2 separate regions of the Homo sapiens genome follow, and region 1 is linked to region 2. Evidence: promoter capture Hi-C in 16 types of primary human blood cells and fetal thymus (Javierre and others, 2016). All regions are on one chromosome and are shown on one strand. Each heading gives the region's core, a stretch centred on a gene start or on the middle of the fragment in contact. The rest is flanking DNA. Distances are from core to core; before and after follow the strand shown.

Evidence for each region. Contacts are between HindIII fragments. The CHiCAGO score rates a contact against its expected background, and 5 or more counts as called.
Region 1: the fragment with the promoter of TULP1 here is called in contact with the fragment with the promoter of CLPSL2 in region 2 in 6 of 17 cell types (erythroblasts, neutrophils, endothelial precursors and 3 more); the score reaches 7.3 in erythroblasts.

The regions. Positions count from the first base shown.
Region 1 is chr6:35,511,562-35,516,271 of GRCh38, forward strand. TULP1 (TUB like protein 1) reads right to left here and starts at 1,335. Exons shown (of 15, transcript NM_003322.6): 1 at 1,251-1,335; 2 at 1,078-1,129; 3 at 619-709; 4 at 87-245. The coding sequence starts at 1,297. The HindIII fragment of the contact is 3,090 bases long and covers 1-1,558 here.
Region 2 is chr6:35,773,568-35,778,387 of GRCh38, forward strand. It overlaps CLPSL2 (colipase like 2), which reads left to right and starts at 3,031. Exons shown (of 3, transcript NM_207409.4): 1 at 3,031-3,135; 2 at 3,892-4,014. The coding sequence starts at 3,052. It also overlaps the pseudogene CMPK1P1. RefSeq lists a silencer at 3,012-3,141. The HindIII fragment of the contact is 8,503 bases long and covers 2,823-4,820 here.

The DNA of each region.
Region 1 (4,710 bases), core at 85-2,584, 260 kb before region 2:
CCTCTCTGGGCCGTTCCCGTCCAGCCAGCCCCTTCTCTCCTTAGCTCCACCGCCCCCTCACCCGCGTCCCTGGGGCCCTCTCTCACCGTCCTCCGCGTCTGGGGCACGGGCTACCAGAAAGGTTTCCCGGGGGTCGCGCTTCTTGGCCTCGGGGTCCCTGAGGAACCTGGCGTAGACCGTCTGCGGCGCCCGGGCCTGGGCTGGGTCTGGGGAAGGCTCCTCCCGCGGCCTCCCCGTCCGCCCAGCTGAGCCGAGATGCGGGGTTCAGACAGGGTCCCATCCGCGGGTCCGCGAGGCAGCGCCTCTACCCGCTACCCCCAAGCCTGGGCGCACCCCCTCGGGCTCCTCACCCTAGGGATCTCCCCTGGGCTTGGGTTTCCACTTTCAACACTTCTCCCCGGCTTCCATTCAGCTTCCCACCCCCTTCTACCCCAACGCCACCCCCTTCTACACCAACCCCAACCCCAACCCCAACCCCAATCCCTCCCCTCTCATCACTCCCCGCCCCCTCCTCCCCCACCCCGTTCCAGGGCTCGGCGACACCCGCGCCGGCCCTCAAGCCCCTCCCTTCCGCAGCCCACACCCTGGGGGTCCACCCGGGCTCTGCACCCCGCCCACCTCCGGGCTTCCGGGGCTTGGATCCCGTGGGGCAGGGGGATTCGGGGGCCTCCGTCCTCTTCTTCCTTAGCCTCTGTGCCGGGGCGGGTCGCTGCGGAACGGGGGTCAAGAGGAGGTCGAGGAAGGAAAGGGGGGCGCTGAGGCCCGCCCATCCCCCTCTAATCCCTTGAGCCGCCAGAAATAACCGCAGATTATCCGGGGGGAACTGCAGCCCCCTTCTTGGAGTGAGGCAGGATGACCCCTTCCATGCATCGTGGCCATATCCAATGCTCCAAAGTCCCTATTCCTTCCCTGGAAACCCCAAGTCCCCAAACAGCCCTTTCTCCCCCCAGATCTCCAGACATGCAACCCCCAGACCCTGCTAAGGGGGACCTGTCCCACCCCTAGACCCCCTACCCTGCGTGGGTTTACGCACAGCGGGGACATCTTTCTGCTTCCTTTCCAAGTGGGGTGGCATACCTGTTTGGGGCGCCGCGGGGCCTCCGGGCTCAGGCTTTCTTCTTCATGCCCACTGAGGGTAGCAAAGGGATCAGCCTGTCTCCCTTCCCCTTCCCTCCCCATCCCACCCACTCCCCATCCCTCCATCTAGGCCCCCCAGGGTTCAGGTGCCACGAACTGGGGGCCTTCCAGACCTGTCAGAGGCCCACACCTCTCGGAGGGTTTCATCCCGCAGAGGCATGGTGCCTTTGCCTATCGCACCCCTTTCTCTGCAGGTCTAGGAGCCTCCCTCCCGACTCCTGCTAATCTCGGCTCAACTTCACCCCCCTTCCCCCTGCTCAAGGAGTGGAGGCCTGGCCGCGCTGTGGGAGGTGCTACAGCCCACGACCCTCCCCTGCTAGGCCCAGGCCACTGGGGGAAGAATCTCAACTCCAGTTCTTCTCAGATCCCCAGCAGCCTGCAGGATGGCCACCAGCTCCACCTGCCCCGAGAAGCCCCCAGAAGCTTGGGGTGAGAGGGGCCGATTAGTCATTTGTCAATGGGATGTGGAAGAAAACATTAGACTGGATCCTGTATTTATCTTTATTTCTCACAAAAAATAAGAACTAGAGCCAGGTGCGGTGGTTTACACCTGTAATCCCAGCACTTTGGGAGGCTGAGACAGGTGGATCATTTGAGGTCAGGAGTTCGAGGCCAGCCTGGCCGGCACAGTGAAACCCAGTCTCTACTAAAAATTCAAAAATTAGCCGGGTGCGGTGGCTCACCCCTGTAATCCCAGCACTTTGGGAGGCCGAGGCAGACGGATCACAAGGTCAGGAGATCGAGACTATCCTGGCTAACATGGTGAAACCTCATCTCTACTAAAAATGCAAAAATTAGCCGGGCATGGCGGCAGGCACCTGTAGTCCCAGCTACTCAGGAGGCTGAGGCAGGAGAATGGCGTGTACCTGGGAGGCGGAGCTTGCAGTGAGCGGAAATCATGCCACTGCACTCCTGCCTGGGCAACAGAGTGAGACTCCGTCTCAAAATAAATAAATAAATAAATAAAAAATTAGCTGGGCATCGTGGTGGGCACCTGTAGTCCCAGCTACTGGGGAGGCTGAGGCAGGAGAAGCACTTGAACCTGGGAGGCGGAGGTTGCAGTGAGCCGAGATCTTGCCAATGCACTCCAGCCTGGCCAAAAAGAGCAAGACTACATCTCAGAAAAAAAAAAAAAAAAAAGAATATGTCTGTATTGGAGGTATACCCTTAACTCTTTTTCTTTTTTCACTGATAGGGGACATGCTTTTGTGGTATTGTTTTGTTTTGTTTTAGACAGAATTTTGCTCTTGTCACCCAGGCTGGAGTGCAGTGGCACGATCCTGGCTAATTACAGTAAATCCATATCAAATGGAACTTTCTAAAATACTATTTCTTCGGTTGCCACCTTTGTTCAAAAACATTCATTGGCTCCCTACTGCCTAAGGATTAAGTTTAAATGTGTTGGGTTGACATTCAAGGCTCTCCCTGATCTGGCCCCAGTCTGCCTTTCTAACCACAGGGTTATCCCAAGCCATACTCTTCATCCAGCCACAGAGGTTTCCTTACTGCCTTTACAGTTCTGTCCTCCATGCCTTTGCTCAGGCTGTTCCCTCCCGGAACGCCCTCCCTATTCCATGAAACCTATCCAACTCTAAACAGTCCTCAAGTCGCCACTTCGGAGAGGCCTCAGTCCTCAGTTGGCTCTGACCATATAATAATAATAGCATTTATTGTCCACCTACTGTGGCTTGCTCCCATTCTGACTCCACCCTCACAATAATATTTATGAGACAGACATTAACACCCTGATATTAGGGCAAGGAGCAGTGGCTTATGCCTGTAATCCCAGCACTTTGGGAGGATCACTTGAGCCCAGGAGCTCAAGACCAGGCTGAGCAACATAGTGAGACTTTGTCTCTACAAAAAATTTAAAAATTAGCTGAGCAATGTGGTACATGCCTGAGGTCCCAGCTACTTGGGAGGCTGAGGCAGGAGGATGACTTGAGCCCAGGAGGCAGAGGCTGCAGTGAGCTAAGACAGTGCCACAGCACTCCAGCCTGGGCAATGGAGTGAGACCCTGTCTCAAAAACAAAACCAAACAACCAAACAACCAAACGAAAACACCCTGATATTAAAGGTGAGGAAACTGACAGCTGAGTGTCAGTCAACAAGTATTTCCTGAGCACCTATTGTGTGCCAAGCGCTATGCTAAATAATGGTCATACAGAGATGAACAACATGATGTGGTCCCCGCCCTCGTGCAGCTTACATGCTTGTGAGAGAGACAGATAGTAGAGACATAAATACCCAAATTAGTGATAATGATCTCATTATTATTAGTTGTGAGAAATGCCAAGAAGGAAAGGAACTGGGCTCCACGAGACCAGCAGGTGGGTTCCAGTCTGGATTTAGAGTACAGGCAAGGCTGCCTGAGGAAGGAAGGTTTCGTTTTGTTTTGTTTTGTTTTTTGAGATGGAGTCTTGTTCTGTCACTCAGGCTGGAGTGCAATGGCACGATCTCAGCTCACTGCAACCTCTGCCTCCCAGGGTCAAGCAATTCTCCTGTCTCAGCCTCCTGAGTAGGTGGGATTACAGGCACCTGGCTATGTTTTGTATTTTTAGTAGACAAGGGGTTTCACCATGTTGGCCAGGCTGATCTCAAACTCCTGACCTCAAGTGGTCCGCCTGCCTTGGCCTCACAAAGTGCTGGGATTACAGGCATGAGCTACCATGCCCTGCCCTGAGGAAGGAATTTTTTTTTTTTTTTTTGACATGGAGTCTCACTCTTGTCACCCAGGCTGGAGTGCAGTGGTGCAATCTGAGCTCACTGCAACCTTCGCCTCCCAGATTCAAGCAATTCTCCCGCCTCAGCCTTCTGAGTAGCTGGGACTACAGGCACCCGCCACCACGCCTGGCTAATTTTTTTTTTTTTTTTTTTTTTGTAGTTTTGGTAGGGATGGGGTTTCACCATGTTGGCCAGGCTGGTCTCGAACTCCTGACTTCTAGTGATCCGCCCACCTCGGCCTCCCAAAGTGCTGGGATTACAGGCCTGAGCCACCGTGCCTGGCCAAGGAAGGCATTTTTAAACTGAAATCTGAAGGAATTTTTTTTTTTTTGAGACGGAGTTTTGCTCTTGTCTCCCAGGCTGGAGTGCAATGGCGTGATCTTGGCTCACTGCAACCTCTGCCTCCTGGGTTCAAGTGATTCTCTCCTGCCTCAGCCTCCCAAGTAGCTGGGATTACAAGCGTGTGCCACCATGCCTGGCTAATTTTTGTATTTTTAGTAGAGATGGTGTTTCACCACCTTGGCCAGGCTGGTCTCAAACTCCTGACCTCAGGTGATCCGCCTGCCTCAGCCTCCCAAAGTGTTGGGATTACAGGCATGAGCCACTGCACCCAGCCTGAAGGATCTTGAAGGCTAGAAAAGAGAATGTTCCAGGCACAAGGCACAGCATGTGCAAACTGTTTTCAGGCAGCAAAGAACTTGGCACACTGGAGCAGGACTGCCCCCTGGACCGGGACAAGAGTAGTCCTGCCTGCGACCTGCACTTCAGAGGGCTCCTGAGACTTGCAAATGCCAAACAGATACATTGCTAAGAACTGTCTCACAGTTGGGCAAGGTGGCTCACGCCTAT
Region 2 (4,820 bases), core at 1,781-4,280:
GGAAGGTGAAGAGGCAGGAAATAGGGGGTAAGAAGTCCACCAGCAAGGTGCTCCCCTGTCCTGAACTGACCCCCTTCTGCTCACTGAAGTCTGAGGTGGCCAGTTTTGGGCCCTGGGCAGAGCTGTGGCCATGCTCACAGGTCAGGCAGCTCAGGGATTCCCGGCGCTGGAGACCCTGGTGATCTTGTTCCTACTCCCCCGCAATGCAGAGGTACCCTGGACATGTGCCTGTGACCGGTGCTGGCAGGCCATGGTACAGGACTTGGAGTCAGGAGCAGAGCTAGGCCTGGCTCTGCTACTCACCAGCTGAGTTACTGGGAGAAGTCCCTGCCTTCTCTGGGCCTCGGTTTCCTCAACTGAAAATAAAGGTTCTGAACTAGTTGTTTTTGAGGAAACCGGAAGATCTCTGGCTTAAGAAAAAAAAAAGCCATGCCCATAATATTTTGTACAGAATTCCAGGGGCTTCACCACCCCTCAGGGCCTTCAGTGGGTTCCCCAGGGGCTGCTAACCCTGACACGCAGTTGCTGGCCCCTTGCCTTCAAATTTGCCACTTTCCTAAGCAGTCAACAATACTTCTCAAGTATCTAACGGTCATGGGGGTATGGGCAAAGGAAGCCGGTGAAGCAGTACAAGGAAGTATCCATCCCCAGGCCTCCTCTCCAGTTCACAAATGGTCTGCGTGGATGGGTCGCTAGTCAGCCAAGGTAGCAGAACACACATATGAAGAGAGCTCAGACCGCGACTGCTGGAGCCCCCTTACTAGGTAATGATGGGAACCCCCTTACTAGGGCCAAAGCCCTCTGGCCGCCCGCAGCAGTGTAGATCAGTGGTAAGAACTTGGACCCAGGAGCTAGAATGCCCTGGATTTATATCTGACTCTGCCATTTAATCCTGTTCCTTGGGCAAGTAACTTTATCTTGAGCCTTCAGGTTCCTAGTCTGTAAAACAGGGCTAAGAGTTACGCAGCAGAAATGATAGTAGATGCTAAATATTCCAAGACTCCTTTGAATTTCCCAGCCTCCCTTGCAGAAGGTTAGAGGGTTGGGATCATGTGACTAGTTCCAGCAGGTGGTTTGTGAGTGGAGAAGGCAGGTCTTCCATGGAGACCTTGGATGCTAGTTTTTTTTTTTTTTTTTGAGACAGGGTCTCACTCTGTTGCCCATGCTGGAGTGCAGTGGCACGATCATAACTCACTGCAGCTTCAGCCTCCCGAGTAGCCAGGACTACATGCATGTGCCACCATGTCTGGCTAATTTCTTAAATTTTTTTTGTAGCAATGAGGTCTCACTATATTGCCCAGGGCTGGCCTTGAACTCCTGAGCTCACGAGATCCTCTCAGCCGGGCATGGTGACTCCCACTGGTAATCCCAGCACTTTGCGGAGGTTGCAGTGAGCCGAGATTGTGCCATTGCACTTCAGCCTGGGCAATAGCGTGAGACTCTGTCTCAAAAAAAAAAAAAAAAAAAAAAAAAAAAAAAACCAAAAAAACCCCCAAAACAACTGATCCTCTCTCCTTGGCCTCCCGAAGTGCTGTGAATACATGCATGAGCCACCATGCCCAGCCAGAGGCCAGTCTTATAGATGGCTACAGGATGGAAGAAGGGTATCTTGCCCCAAATCAGACTGTACATAAAGCATTATTGTGCCAAGCCACGAAATTCCAGGAGTTCTGTTGTTACAGCCAGTGTTAATTACTCTGTGACAGCTAGTGTTAATACAGGGAGGGCTCACGGAAATAATGGATACAAGGCCCTCTGAGTGCGGTGGGGGCTGTTATTCTTGGCTGTTATTCCCCACCAAGACAGGATTCCTCGGTTCATTTCTTAAGCGAAACTTCAAAAGCAGAAGCAGGCTGGGAGTGGTGGCTCACGTCTGTAATCCCACCACTTTGGGAGGCCGAGGCAGGAGAATCTCTTGAGCCCATGAGTTCAAGACCAGCCTGGACAACATAAGGACAACCTGTCTCTATAACAAATATTAACAATACAAAATTAAAAAAAAATAGAAATTAAAAAAAAGCAGAAGCAGGCAGGTGGGGTGAGGTGGAAGCTTCATCCATAGGGAAGTCCTGAGGAAGGCCTGCCTCCCCCGGTTCCAGGATTGCTCTGTGCAGCTCTAGCTCTCCCTTAACCCTCCTCCCTATTCTGAGTTTTCTTCTCTTCCCACTTCTCCATTTTGCCCCCACATCTTGACTTTCACACAATTCACAGACAAATCCTTAGACAATTAATAGAATGATTAAGACTGCAAGAGATTTAAGACTTAGAGACCATCTTGTCCCACCTCCTGGTTCTTACAGAAGAGGAGAATGGGGCCTGCAGCGGGTGTGAGCAGCCCAGAGGGTGGGGCTGGATTATCCCGAAGGTAAGGGGAGAATCTGGGGCTGCAAGGGCAGACAGAGAATCAACATCAGGAAGGAAGCTCTTTTTATTTCAGCATATATGTTTTGTGCCGTTTATAAAAATAAAGTTTTGAGGCCAGGTGCGGTGGCTCACACCTGTAATCCCAGCACTTTGGGAGGCTGAAGCAGGACCATCACTTGAGGCCAGGAGTTAGAGACCAGCCTGGGCGACATGGGGAGACCCCCGTCTCTACAGAAATTTTTAAAATTATCCCGGCGTGGTGGCGCACACCTGTAGTCCCAGCTACTCGGGAGGCTGAGGCAGGAGGATCACTTGAACCTGGGAGGCGGAGATGGCAGTGAGCCGAGATCACGCCACTGCACTGGGCGACAGTGCGAGACTCCGTCTGTAAAATAAATAAATACAATAAAATAGAGTTTTATCTTACAATAAAAATAGAGTTTTATCTTACAGTTTCAAGCTTCTACTTGGAAGTAACACGTATGGAGGCTCCCAGGGCCCCTACAGTCTGGAATCCCGCCCGTGCGAGCCTGAGCGCCTTTCCTCCCTCCTTCCCTTCCGCAGGCGTCCTCGCCCTCCACGTCCCTCCTCCGCCGGGGTGGCCTGGGGCGCCGGGTCACGTGGCCGGGGAAGAGGTTTTATCCCGCGGCCCCTCGGAACCCCGCCGCTGCTCTGCCGCCCAGGCCCATGGCCGCAGCCCTGGCGCTCGTGGCGGGGGTCCTGTCGGGGGCGGTGCTGCCCCTCTGGAGCGCGCTTCCGCAATATAAAAAGGTGAGCCGGGGAGCGCGCCCAGCCGGCCGCGACCGCAGGAGAGGGTGGCCCCGCCGCCGGGGCACTGGAGCCCGAAGGCGCCGGGCAGCCTGAAAGGGAGAGGTGGGTCCGGAACCACACCCAGGCGGGTAGCCTGGGGCATCCTCAGACGGACTTCAAAAGCCGCTTCACTTTCCCCTGGTGGCCTCAGAGGGGAGAGAAATTGGCCTATGACCAGCACCCTCGCTCCCTCCACCTCCCCCGCCCGTGCCCCTTCCGATGGCCTCAGTCCTGGGCTCGCTTCCCTCCCCAAACTGCTCACAGGCAAACCCACCCTGCATGCTCTGGTTTCTCCTCCTCTTCTTCCACCTCCTCTCACTGTCTAGTGATTCTTCCAGGCACGAGGGCTCTCCCCTTTTCTCCTCTTTCTCTCCCTCTTTTTCGAGCCCGCAGCCCCTTCATTCTCATCCCCCAACCCTGCCCCGCAAAATGGGACTTAAGAGTACACACCCCATGGGACTCATGGAGGTGAGGGGGGTCCAGGAAAGGAGAGGCCGAGGGAAAAGTGCTAATCCCCCTCTCCTCCTCTCTGCTGCCCTGGGTCCTGCTGAGGGGCCGGGGTGGGGCTGGGGGGGGAACCAGCCCCCCAAGGGGTGACAACCTCATGACTTCTCCTGGATCCCTGGGCTCTTTGGCAATGGTGGGAACCCTCCCCTACCCGCCCACACGACTCAGGGATTGCTCCCAGCCTGGCAGACATTCTGCCTGTCCCCACAGAAAATCACAGACAGGTGCTTCCACCACTCTGAGTGCTACAGTGGCTGCTGCCTCATGGACTTGGACTCCGGTGGAGCCTTCTGTGCCCCCAGGGCCAGAATAACCATGATCTGCTTGCCCCAGGTGAGGCCCTAGTATGGGGCAACTTCTGGCAAGTAGAGAAGCGGGCAGGGAGGTTAAAAAAAAAACACCTGGCCCCACCTGTTTTTTCACCTCTGTCTGGAGTGCCCTTCTTCTTCTCCACTTGGCAAACTCCTACTCATGGTGCAAAACAACTCCAGCCACCTCCTCTGAGAAGGCTTCCCTCCTTGGAGCTCCTGTACCCTGGGGTCAGACCCTCAGCAGACCATGTATCTCCCTAACTGGCCATGTCTTTTCTCTGCCTCTCCCAGTGGTTGGAACTCTTCAAGGGCAGGGATCGCATCATATTCATCTATGAAGCACCTACCCCCAGCTTAGTATCTGCACATAGTAGGTGCTCAATAAATGCTTATTGTTGTTTGTTTGTTTGTTTCGAGATGGAGTCTCGCTCTGTCACCCAGGCTAGAGTGCAATGGCATGATCTCGGCTCACTGCAACCTCTGCCTCCTGGGTTCAAGCGATTCTTGGGCCTCAGCCTCCCGAGTAGCTGGGATTACAGGGGTGCACCGCTATGCCTGGCTAATTTTCGTATCTTTGGTAGAGATGGGGTTTTGCCATGTTGGCCAAGCCGGTCTTGAACTCCTGACCTCAGGTGATCCACCTGGCTCGGCCTCCCAAGGTGCTGGGATTATAGGCATGAGCCACCGTGCCCGGCCAATAAATGCTTGTTGAATGAATGAATATCTCTTCTCTCACACCACTGAGGCAGGGTAAGTAGGAAATGACCTTCCCCTTACTAGTCCCCATCTCCCTGCCACAGTGACATGATTTCTTGAGAGGAGCATGGC